Regions from separate parts of the Homo sapiens genome. Here all the other regions are linked to region 2. The links are contacts of gene promoters, found by promoter capture Hi-C in blood cells and fetal thymus (Javierre and others, 2016). All regions are on one chromosome and are shown on one strand. The core of a region is centred on a gene start or on the middle of the fragment in contact, and the rest is flanking DNA. Distances in the headings are between cores, read along the strand shown.

What was found. The method cuts DNA at HindIII sites, captures the fragments that hold promoters and counts their contacts. A CHiCAGO score of 5 or more calls a contact.
Region 1: a fragment that was not itself captured here is called in contact with the fragment with the promoter of SIT1 in region 2 in 1 of 17 cell types (naive B cells); the score reaches 5.3 in naive B cells.
Region 3: a contact is called between a fragment that was not itself captured here and the fragment with the promoter of SIT1 in region 2, in 3 of 17 cell types (M0 macrophages, M2 macrophages and M1 macrophages). The highest score is 7.1, in M0 macrophages.

What each region holds. Positions count from the first base shown.
Region 1 is chr9:35,877,998-35,881,821 of GRCh38, forward strand. No RefSeq gene overlaps it. Among named protein-coding and RNA genes, the nearest start is that of OR13J1, 9.5 kb to the left of the region's middle. The HindIII fragment of the contact is 4,615 bases long and covers 95-3,824 here.
Region 2 is chr9:35,648,652-35,652,180 of GRCh38, forward strand. It overlaps SIT1 (signaling threshold regulating transmembrane adaptor 1), which reads right to left and starts at 2,280. Exons shown (of 5, transcript NM_014450.3): 1 at 2,103-2,280; 2 at 1,851-1,986; 3 at 1,706-1,764; 4 at 1,533-1,594; 5 at 644-1,430. The coding sequence starts at 2,202. The coding sequence ends at 1,197. RefSeq lists an enhancer at 1,031-1,080 and a silencer at 1,991-2,060. The HindIII fragment of the contact is 5,575 bases long and covers 1,029-3,529 here.
Region 3 is chr9:35,482,721-35,486,649 of GRCh38, forward strand. It overlaps the pseudogene ATP8B5P. Among named protein-coding and RNA genes, the nearest start is that of RUSC2, 5.4 kb to the right of the region's middle. The HindIII fragment of the contact is 7,851 bases long and covers 1-3,929 here.

The sequences.
Region 1 (3,824 bases), core at 1,152-3,651, 230 kb after region 2:
AATCTTTGGCTGCAATTACAGATTTGTCTATTCCTCCTTTCAGTTCTATCAGGTCTTGCTTTATGTATTTTGAGGCTCTGTCATTAGATATATAAGCTTTTAGGACTGTTATGTTATCTTGATGAACTGACATCTTTGTCATTTTCAAATGACCCTCTTTATCCCTGTTAATGTTTTTGCTCTAATATCTACTTTGTCTGCTATTAATATAGAATTGGAGCTTTAATTTTTTTTTTTTTTTTTTTTGAGATGGAGCCTTGCTATGTCGCCAGGCTGGAGTGCAGTGGTGTGATCTCGGCTCACTGCAAGCTCTGCCTCCTGGGTTCACACCATTCTCCCGCCTCAGCCTCCTTTGAGTAGCTGGGATTACAGGCACGTGCCACCAGGCCCAGCTAATTTTTGTATTTTTGGTAAAGACGGGGTTTCACCATGTTGGCCAGGATGGTCTCAATCTCCTGACCTCGTGATCTGCCTGCCTCGGCCTCCCAAAGTGCTGGGATTACAGGCGTGAGCCACTGTGCCCGGCCGGATCTTTAAAAATTTAATCAGACAATCTCTGCCCTTTAATTTAGATGCTTAGACCAATTGCATTAAAAATGACCAGGGACATAGTTGGATTTAAATATTTCATCTGGCTGTTTGTTTTCTATTGTTCCATCTGTTATTTGTTCCTCTTTTAATCTACCTTTAATTAATGTAATACCACCTCACCTATAGTATATAAATGTCGCAACAATGCCCTTTCACTTCCCCTCATCTGGGTTTTGAGCTATTGTTGTTATATATTGTAATTCCACATCTGTTAAAATTCTATAATACCTTATTACTTTTGCTTCCAATAGTCAACTATGCCATATATTCCTTCCTTTAAAAAAATTATTAGCTTCCTATTGGCCACATCCAAGCTATGTTTTAAAAGGTTTAAAAATTAGAGTAAAAATATTTTATATTTATTCACATATTCACCATTTCTAGGGCTCTTTATTGCCTGGTATAGATAGGTATTTTCTTCTGATAACATTTTTCTTCCACCTGAAGGACTTCTTTTAACATTCTTATAGATCTGGACTGTTGGTAATAAAATCTTTCAAATTTTGTATGTCTGAAAATATTTTTATTTAACTTCAGTATTGAGAGGTATTTTGCTTAGTATAGAATTCTGACAGTTTAATTTTCCTTTTACCATTTTGAAGATATTGCGCTACTGTCTTCTGGCTTGCATTGTTTCTGACAATGACTGCTGTCATTCTTGTTTGTTCCTCTGTATATAACGTGTCTTTTTCTATGATTGCTTTTAAGATGTTCTCTTTACCGCTGATTAAAGCAATAGTATTATAATATGCCTTGGTGTAGCTGTCTTCATGTTCTTCTGCTTGGGCTTTGTTGAGATTCTTGGATCTATGATTTTGTAGCTGTCTTCTTGTTCTTCTGCTTGGGCTTTGTTGAGGTTTTTGGATCTATGATTTTGTAGGTTTTTTTAAGTGTAGAAAAATTTTGATCATTTTTTTTCTGTCCATTGCTTCTTTTCCTGAGATTCTAGTTGTACCTATATTAGGCTACTTGAAGTCCCAAAGCTCACTGATATTTTATTTATTTATATTTTTGTGTATTTTATTTTGGTTAATGTATATTGCTATGGTATCAAGTTTACTAATATTTTCTGCTGTAGGTTCTAGTCTGCTATTAATTCCATCTAATATATTTGAAATTTGTTTTAAATTTTGAAATAATCTTAGATTGGCAGAAGAGTTCTAAAGATAGGATGTAGATTTCCTGAATAACTTTCAACCAACTTCTCCTAATGTGAACATCTTATATAGCCATGAAATGTTCATCAAAACTCAGAAATTAGCAGTGACACAACTAAACATAATTGGCACTATTAACTAAACATAATTGGCACTATTAATTAAACTACAGGCTTTATTCAAATTTTCCCAGTTTTCCCACAAATATCCTTTTTCTGTTCCTGGATCCAATCCAGGATATCATGTTGCATTCATCCATTTGATTTTTTTTTAATCTCAAAAATTGTATTTTTTTATTTTTAAAAGTTTTATTTGGGTCTTTAAAAATCTTCTGTGTCTTTCTTTAATATGTGAGGCTTGCTTTTAACAATATACCATGTCTTGTGTATATATATGTAAATGTGTATGTACACATATATACATATGTGTATACATATATACACATATGTATATGCACATATATAATATATGTATACATATATATACACACATATATACATATATATACACACACACACACACACACACATACACATATATATATATACATAGAGAGAGAGAGAGAGAGAGAGATTGAGAGAGAGAGAATGGAGTTTCACTCTTGGTGCCCAGGCTGGAGTGCAGTGGCGTGATCTCGACTCACTGCAACCTCCGGCTCCCAGGTTCAAGCGATTCTCCTCAGCCTCCCAAGTAACTGGAACCACAGGCATGCACCACCACACCGAGCTAATTTTTGTATTTTTAGTAGAGACGGGGTTTCACCATGCTGGTCAGGCTGGTCTCAAACTCCTGACCTCAGGTGATCCACCTGCCTCGGCCTCCCAAAGTGCTGGGATTACAGGTGTGGGTCACCGCGCCCGACCGTAGATATTTTTATATAATTGTTTCTTTGTAAGTTATATGTAATATTCTATTGTGTGAATATATTATAGCTTATTTGAGTATTTCCTGTTGTTAGACATTTAGGTTGTATCTCATGTTTTCTTTGGCCATGCAAACAATGCTGCAAATCATATCATTTTACATGACTCTTTGGCACATGTACAGATACTTCTCTAGGATAGATATTTTGACAGGAAGTTATTGGATTGAAGGTATGTTTATTTAAATTGTTGAAAGATGCCCTAAATTGCCCTCAGAAATGTTGTCTTAATTTAAATCTCCACCAAGAATATAACAGTACCCATTTCTCCATATCCTGACTGATACTGGGTGTTATCAGTCTTTTATTTTTTATTTTTAAGTTAAAATTAAATTAAATTAAACTTTTAAAGAGATGGAATTTTGCTTTGTTGCCCAGGCTGTAGCGCAGTGGTGCAATCATAGCTCACTGTAACCTTGAACTCTTGGGCGTGAGTGATCCGCATGTCTCAGCTTCCCGAGTAAGCAGGACTACAGGAGCATGCCAGCGCACCCTGATGATTATTTTAATTTTTTTTTAGAGATGGAGTCTTGTTATTTGCCTAGGCTGGTCTTGAATGCCTGATCTCAAGTGATCCTCCCCCTTCAGCCTCCCAAAGTTCAGGGATTACAGGCTTGAGCCACCTCACCTGGCCTCAGTCTTTTAAATTTTGTATTACAATGGGTGAAAAAGGATATCTTGCTGTTTTATTTTACATTTCCCTGATCACTAAAAATGTTAATAATAATTCTATTTGTCATTTTTTGCCATTAAAATTTTTTTCTGTTGATTATCTCTTCATATTTTATGCTCATTTTTCTAATTTTGAAAATAATGATTTCTAGAAATTCTTTATATAGTCTCTATAGTATTTCTTTGTGTATTATATATGTGGCAAACATTTTATGTCAGTTACCTTTTTTATTTGTGTATGATATCTTTTGTTACATAGAAGTTTAATTATTTGGGGTAGCAAATTTCTTTTTCGTTGTCTCTTGTGTAATATCCCCAAGGTTTTAAGTACATTCGCCTTTCTGTATTTTCTTCTAATGATTTAAAAGTTTTACTTTTCAATTTAACTTTTATTTTATCTGGAATTTACTTATTGAGTGAGTGAGGTAGGATAAGTAAACTTATTTACTTGCCACAATAAAATTTATTATGGAGGTCATTCT
Region 2 (3,529 bases), core at 1,030-3,529:
GGGTGGACAGGCAGGACAAATTAGATGGGGATTAAAATGAAAGTGGTGACAAGCAAAACTGTTGCCAAGACTGCAGGTGACAACTGAGAGAGTGAAGGCCAGGCACGGTGGCTCATGCCTGTAATCCCAGCACTTTGGGAGGCCAGAGTGGGAGAGAGTGAGTGGAGATGGACCGCTGCCATAGTGATGGGGTAAGGAGAAGGCCTCTAGGGGTATACGATGACTAAGTGCAGATAAGGCTACTGATGTCAAAACAGGGGTATAGGTGGGACTCATAGCGGACAGACGGAGGTCAGATTGGAGGACTTGATGAAGGAACCAGGCTGGCAGGTTGTGGAGGTGATGGCAGTTATAGAGGTCAAGGGGAGAGTAGCTCAGGACTGTGAGCTTGCAGCCCCAGGGGGAATGCAGTGGCTCTGAGTGCAGATCCCAGGGGTGTTCTAGCAGCAGCAACAGCAGCTGAGGAGCTGGGCTCTGGCCCTCCACCCCGGTGCCCACCTCTGCACTGTTGATGCCGCAGCCCCTCTTGGCCCCTCATCCCCAGCTAGGCACCCCCAGAAAGAGCTCCGTGCAGACAGCAAAGCTCACACCCCCATCTGCAGGGCCCTTTGCAAGTCTTCAGCCTTCTAGGTAAAAATCTAAACACTTTTTGGAAAGTTTTATTTGAAAACTTGGGGACAGGACAGAGACAGCAGGATGGAGACTGTATTCTCCTGCTAGGGTTCTTAGGTCAAAAGCCAGGCTCGGGTCCCTCCCGTCTCTAAGTTCCAGGTCCACTCCAGTCTGTGGACTCCTGAGGAATATACCCACCCACCCACTGTCAGGCCCTTACCCCTCCCCCACCGCCCACTTCCTGTGCCTGAGGAGACACTGAGGCGTGGGGGTAGACTATGAGGGAGCGGGGGTGGGGAGGATCTGGTTAAACTCCAGAAGAAGGAAGTGAGAACCTGGGAGTTTGGGGGCTAAGAGGAACAGATAGAAAAAAGAAATAAGGAGGGGGCTACTGTCTTTGCCTCCTCCATCACGAAAGCTTTGCCCTGAGATGTCTCCCTTGAAGCTCAGATAGGAAGTCCGGGGTAGATCACATCCTGTGACTTGGCAATGGCGCCCGTCTTTGGGTGCTGGTTGGGAAACAGTCATGCCCCTGCTACGGGGGGCTGGGGCAGTGCACGCCCCGCTGTGCCAGGCCCTCCATCTCAGCTGGCTGCAGGCTGGCTGTTGGCATAGGCCTGATCCGGGAAGGAGGCCCGGGCCCTGCGGGTCTGGGCACATACTGAGGCATAGAGCTCCGGCTCGGGGCCCGAGGCCTGGGACTTTGGCTCAGAGTCCAGCACCACCTCCGAGTACTTGACGGGGGTTCCAGGACCGGGGATCCGACCCTGAGGAGGCCGCAGCTGCAGGCTGGTATAGCACATCACCTCCTCTGCAGCCTGGAGATGCAAGGCTGTTAGAAGTTCACTGGACCCTCGGAAAAGCCCGAAAAGCCCCCCACTTCCTTCCCTCCCCCTTTTCTCCAGCCACAGTTGACTCACCCTGGCAGGGCCTCCAAGAGTTGGATCCTGCTGGTCTGGCTCTGGGTCTTGAGACAGCCGTCCTGGGACGGGGAACAGGAATCTGGTCAGCAACTTGTCCTTCCTCCTGCACGCCCCCATCCCAGCCACCCAGGACCTGGCCTCTGTGCCCCTCCTCTCTGCCAGCTCCCTACCTGTCTGTAGATAATGCAGGTTCCCATACAGCGGGACCTCTTCCACAGACTCTCCAGAGCTGCAACGCAGAGTTTAGGGGATGAGTGGGGACTTCTCGGTAAGAGAGAACTCTCAGTCAACCCATCCCTGTTGTCCTTCACCCACCGTCCCTGCCCCGGATGGCTCCTGCTCCGGCCCCTGGTCCACTGGGACAAGTGTGCAGCCAGCGAGATGAGAAATAGCAGCGTCACAGCCCCTAAGAGGACCCACAGTCCCCAGGCCTGGGTTATGGAGGGGATTCCTGTGGATGTGAAAGGAAGGGGGGTGTAACAGCCCCGCCCCACCCCCAGGGCCCAGCAGGTGGGACCTGGGGCCACATGACCCCTCCCCCACCAGCCCCTGCCCTGCCCAGCTCACCCAGTGCGAGTAGATCCGTGCAGTTGTCGCCTCTGCTCATGGCTGCAGATGTGAGAGTCCACAAGCACACTGCTCTGAGCCGAGGGTCAGCCTGGTTCATGGCCTGACGGTTTCCACAGCACTTCTTACTCCCATCCCTCCTCAGGCCCGTACCCCGCAGCTCAGCATCCCCAATACTGGTGGTGGCAAAGTCTCTGGTTTCCGGGGAGGAAGGGGGAGGGGAGGGATGAAAAAAAGAACAAAGACCCCGCCCTGTGCCTGCACCTGCGCCACTCCTGCAGCTCCTGAGCTTCCCCCACCCTCGCTGCCCAGGCCCTTTGCCCCCCTTGAGAAGAGAAGCAGGCCTGTGGGTAATGTGCCACGGGCAGTTGAGTCCCTGAGGACTCTGAGGGCGGGGGGTGGGGGCAGAAGTGGTGTGAAGCAGGACTAACAAGGACAGGAACACCCCTTCTGCTCCAGGATGCCCACCTTCCTCCCTGACTCTGGTCCCAGAAGAAAGATGTATTCCTCAATGAGTATGGTATAAAGTGGAAGGGTCGGGGGAGCCTCCTGGTACCTCTGATCCCATCACACCCTAAGGCTGATCTGAGAGGATATGTGTTTAGATGATGCTTGTTATTGTTTCATTGGGGGCATTATAATTTGGGGGACACCCCCAAACCTCCCCTTTCAACCCACTTCATCCAAACTGTCTGTAAGAACTGTCACTCTCAATAATTAATTGCATTTTAAAACTCTTTGCTGTAGGACTGTCCTGGGAAACTGAGCCCTATCTTGCACATGTTCACTTCAGCGGGTGTAGTACCTGCCATACCTAGAGCTAACTCCATCACGTGCAAGGCTATTGATGTAGGAAGAGGGATTTTAAGTTGCAAATATAAACCTGAGACCAGAAGTCAGAGATGTGTTTTGTCTAGCCCATACAACATTTTTTAAAAGTTTAAAATCAGTGCAGTGGCATGCCAACAATAGGGATGGCAGAAGTCCTGCCCCTTGAGTTGCAGGCAATAAGGGGGTGCATTGTCTGTAGAGAATTTAAAAAATAAAAATCAGTCCTCTTATTATCACCATGTTCCAGAAATTCTGAAAAAAAAAATCAGTGATAAAATTATCCTCCCTGAAAAATATTTTATGGATCTAAGTTTTATATTTTTTTTGAGACAGGGTCTTACTTTGTCTCCCAGGTTGGAGTGCAGTAACACAATCTCAGCTCACTGCAGCCTTGACGATCTCCCGGGCTCAAGTGATCCTCCCATCTCAGCCACCTAAGCAGCTAGGACTACAGGCATGTGCCACCACACCCAGCTAATCTAGTTCATTTTTTGTAGAGATAGGTCTCCCTGTGTTGCCAGGCTGGTCTCAACTCCTGACCTCAAGCAACCTGCCCACCTCGGTCTCCCAAAGTGCTGGAATTACAGGCATGAGCC
Region 3 (3,929 bases), core at 1,425-3,924, 170 kb before region 2:
CAAGGGATGCATGAGTGCTACCCATAGACCGGATATGGGCCATGTCTTTAGCGTTTCTTGATCTCGTTAGATAAATTATCTGAAATTTTGAGGAGACTTCAGCAGAAAGAAGCAGGGGATATGCTGTCAAATGCCTGTGGATTTATACTAAGAAAGAAAGAAGGGGCATAAGGAAAATTTTCTTTATCTCGATTTTGGAGGTGGTTACATGGGTATGTATTTGTCAAAATTCATTGACCTGTATACTTAAGATTTATACATTTTATTTTATGTAAACTATATCTCAATAAAGTTGAGTTTTTTAATGTCTAGAAATTTTTAATGGAGTTGTAAGTGACCAACCACAGGAGCCAGATTCACCCACACTGAAGTAACTCACTATAGAAGAGATATCTCCACCAATGGGGAGAGAATTTCTGAAGAACCTATAAAAGGACCTCTTGAAAACGAGTCAACTTTAGATACCTGCCAGGCCTTTTTTTTTTTTTTTTTTTTTTTTTGAGATGGAGTCTCACTCTGTCGCCCAGGCTGGAGTGCAGTAGCGCTATTTCGGTTCACTGCAACCTCTGCCTCCCAGGTTCCAACAATTCTGCCTCAGCCTCCCGAGTAGCTGGGATTACAGGTGCACACCACCACACCCGGCTAATTTTTGTATCTTTAGTAGAGACGGGTTTTTGCCATGTTAGCCAGGCTGGTCTCAAACTCCTGGTCTCAACTGATCTACCCGCCTCAGCCTCCCAAAGTGCTGGGATTACAGGCATGAGCCACCATGCCTAACTTATCTGCCAAGCCTTAAAATTAGTTTATGACTGTATTAGTCAAGTAAAGGCTTTCTTCATCTCTTCCCTCTCCTGTCCTGCTTAAGCCCCGGAGAAAAAAGAATTAGCAAGCTGAAGGAGGGAGGAGGGGTAAGTAGAAAAACAGACATCTACAAAGCCCACTGAACCTGGCCACATGCAGCAGCCCAGCTGAAAGATAAGGAAAAGCATTAATTGTAAAGGTTGAAGTTTTTAAAAATTATTTCATTAAATCACTTTAACTACTAAAGCGAAACTTAAAGTGACAAGTACTGGTTGCTACTAAAAAGGACCATTCACTAAGTACATTTTGCATCAGCACTTGTTCCTTCACCTTGTACTTTTATGTTATAGAGACGACTTCTTTCTGTAAACCTCATGAACCCACCTCTGTTGGCATCCAACTTTTCTTCTGTAACTTCTTCCCCAGCCTTCATAGAATTGAAGAGAGTTAGGGCCTTGCTCTGGATTAGGTTTTGGCTTAAGGGAATACTGTGGCTGGTTTCAGCTTCTATACAGACCACTCAAACTTTCTCTGTATCTGCAATAAGGCTGTTTTGCTTTCTTATTTGTGTGTTCACTGGAATAGCACTTTTAATTTCCTTCAATAACTTTTCCTTTGCATTCACAACTTGGCTAACTGGTATAAGAGGCCTAGCTTTCAGCCTGTCTTGGCTTTCGACATGCCTTCCTCAATAATCTTAATCGTTTCTAGCTTTTTATTTCAAGTGACAGATATGTGACTCTTCCTTTCACTTGAACACTTAGAGGCCATTTAGGGTTATTAATTGGCCTGATTTCAATATTGTTGTGTCTCAGGGAATAGGGAGGCCTGAGGAGAGGTAAAGATGGGAATGACGGGTTGGTGGAGCAGTCAGAACAGGCATTTATTAAGTTTGGCATCTTCTATAGGCGCAGTTCGTGGTGCCCCAAAGAAATGAACAAGGAACACTGTCCTAGCCCCAACATATCCCTGTGATTCCAGCTCCAAATTATCTACCAAATCTTCTAAGATTCATGAAAAGCGTTTTGGAAAAGACACATCATTTGGAGGATCCTGGGAGTCATTCAAGACTATTTGCTGTATGTTACCCCACCCACCCCCATGACACATTCAATTAATCACTAAATTCTACAGATTTCTATACCCTAAATCATCCTTGAATCTATCTCCTCTTATCTAAGCCTTCAGCCACTGCCCTAATTCAGACTCTTTCAGTTCTCATCATAATTATCAATCTCCTAACTGGTTGATTGATTACCTTCCTGTAATTCAATATCCACACTCCTACTGAAGTGAGATTTCTAAAGCTCAGATATGTTCACATCACTCCCCTGCATGAAATAATAGTGCCAACAGCCTTCAGAATAAAATCCAAACTTAGCTGGGCATGGTGGCTCATGCCTGTAATCCCAGCACTTTGGGAGGCTGAGGCGGGTAGATCACCTGAGGTCAGAAGTACAAAACCAGCCTGGCCAACATGGTGAAACTGGGCGTGGTGGCGGGCTCCTGTAATCCCAGCTACTCGGGAGGCTGAGGCAGGAGAATCACTTGAACCCAGGAGGCAGAGGTTGCAGTGAGCCGAGATCACACCACTGCATTCCACCTGGGGTGACAGAGCAAGACTCCATCTCAAGAAAATAAAATCCAAACTCCCAAACACACATACAAGGCCCTTCCTAATCTTGCTGTTGCCTCCCTCCTACACTTTGCCCATGCTTAACTAATGCCCATACTACTTGAGTTTCCCTAAGGCATCATGCTTTCTTTGTTTTTTTTTTTTTTTTTGAGACAGAGTTTCACTCTTGTTGCCCAGGCTGGAGTGCAATGGTGTGATCTCGGCTCACTGCAACCTCCACCTCCCAGGTTCAAGCAGTTCTCCTGCCTCAGAGAGGCAAGTAGCTGGGATTACAGGCATGTGCCACCATGCCTGGCTAATTTTGTATTTTTAGTAGAGGTGGGCTTTTCACCATGTTGGTCAGGCTGGTTTCGAACTCCTGACCTCAGGTGATCCACCCACCTTTGCCTCCCAAAGTTCTGGGATTACAGGCATGACCCACCGTGCCCAGCCTCTTTGTTTGTTTGTTTTTGAGATGGAGTTACGCTCTTGTTACCCAGGCTGGAGTGCAATGGTGCAATCTGAGCTCACTGCAACCTCCACCTCCCGGGTTCAAGCGATTCTCCTGCCTCAACCTCCTGAGTAGCTGGGATTACAGGCACCTGCCAGCATGCCCAACTAATTTTTGTATTTTTAGTAGAGACGGGGTTTCACCATGTTGGCCAGGCTGATCTTGAACTCCTGATCTGAGGTGATGTGCCTGCCTTGGCCTCCCAAAGTGCTGGGATTACAGGTGTGAGACACCGCACCCGGCCAGCATCATGCTTTCTTATGTCTCTGTGTTTTCGTATATTCTTTGATTTGCAAGTGTCTGGAAAACTTAAGAAATACTTTGAAATGGGTGTCTTTTTAATGGAATGTTGGGTGCTGTTAAGAATCTTTGGGAATTATTTGATTATATTAGCGGTGAGAGCCTTTGATTTCCTTTGACTAGGTTCCTATTTTACAAGTAAGCTATTTTCTAACTCGTTGGAGTTAGAAGTTAACTTCAGAATACTGACAATAAATAATACAAAAGATTTTCTGCCCATAACAGTGCAAACGATTCCTGTTCTGGGTGATGCAAATAAATTTTGTCCATTAGAGAAAAGACATTTCTAAGTCAAATCTTCATTTGAACTGGTTTTAGTATCTTACTGGTTCCCTCATTAGTTAAATAAAAAATTTGAAATATGTTCATTGTATATTTGTATAAGGCTCTGCCAGGCTCAGTGGCTCATGTCTGTAATCCCAGCACTTTAAGAGGTGGAGGCGGGTGGATTGCTTGAGCTCAGGAGTTCAAGACCAGCCTGGGTAACATGGCAAAACCCTGTCTCTACCAAAAATGCAAAAAATATCTTTAGTCCCAGCTACTCTGGAGGCTGAGGTGGGAGGATCGCTGAAGCCCGGAAGTCGAGGCTGCAGTGAGCCATGATCGCACCACTGCACTCCAGCCTGGGTAACAGAGAACCTGTCTCAAAAAATAAAAAATAAAAATACTTGCATAAGGCTCATTATTTTACCTTTTTGAAAG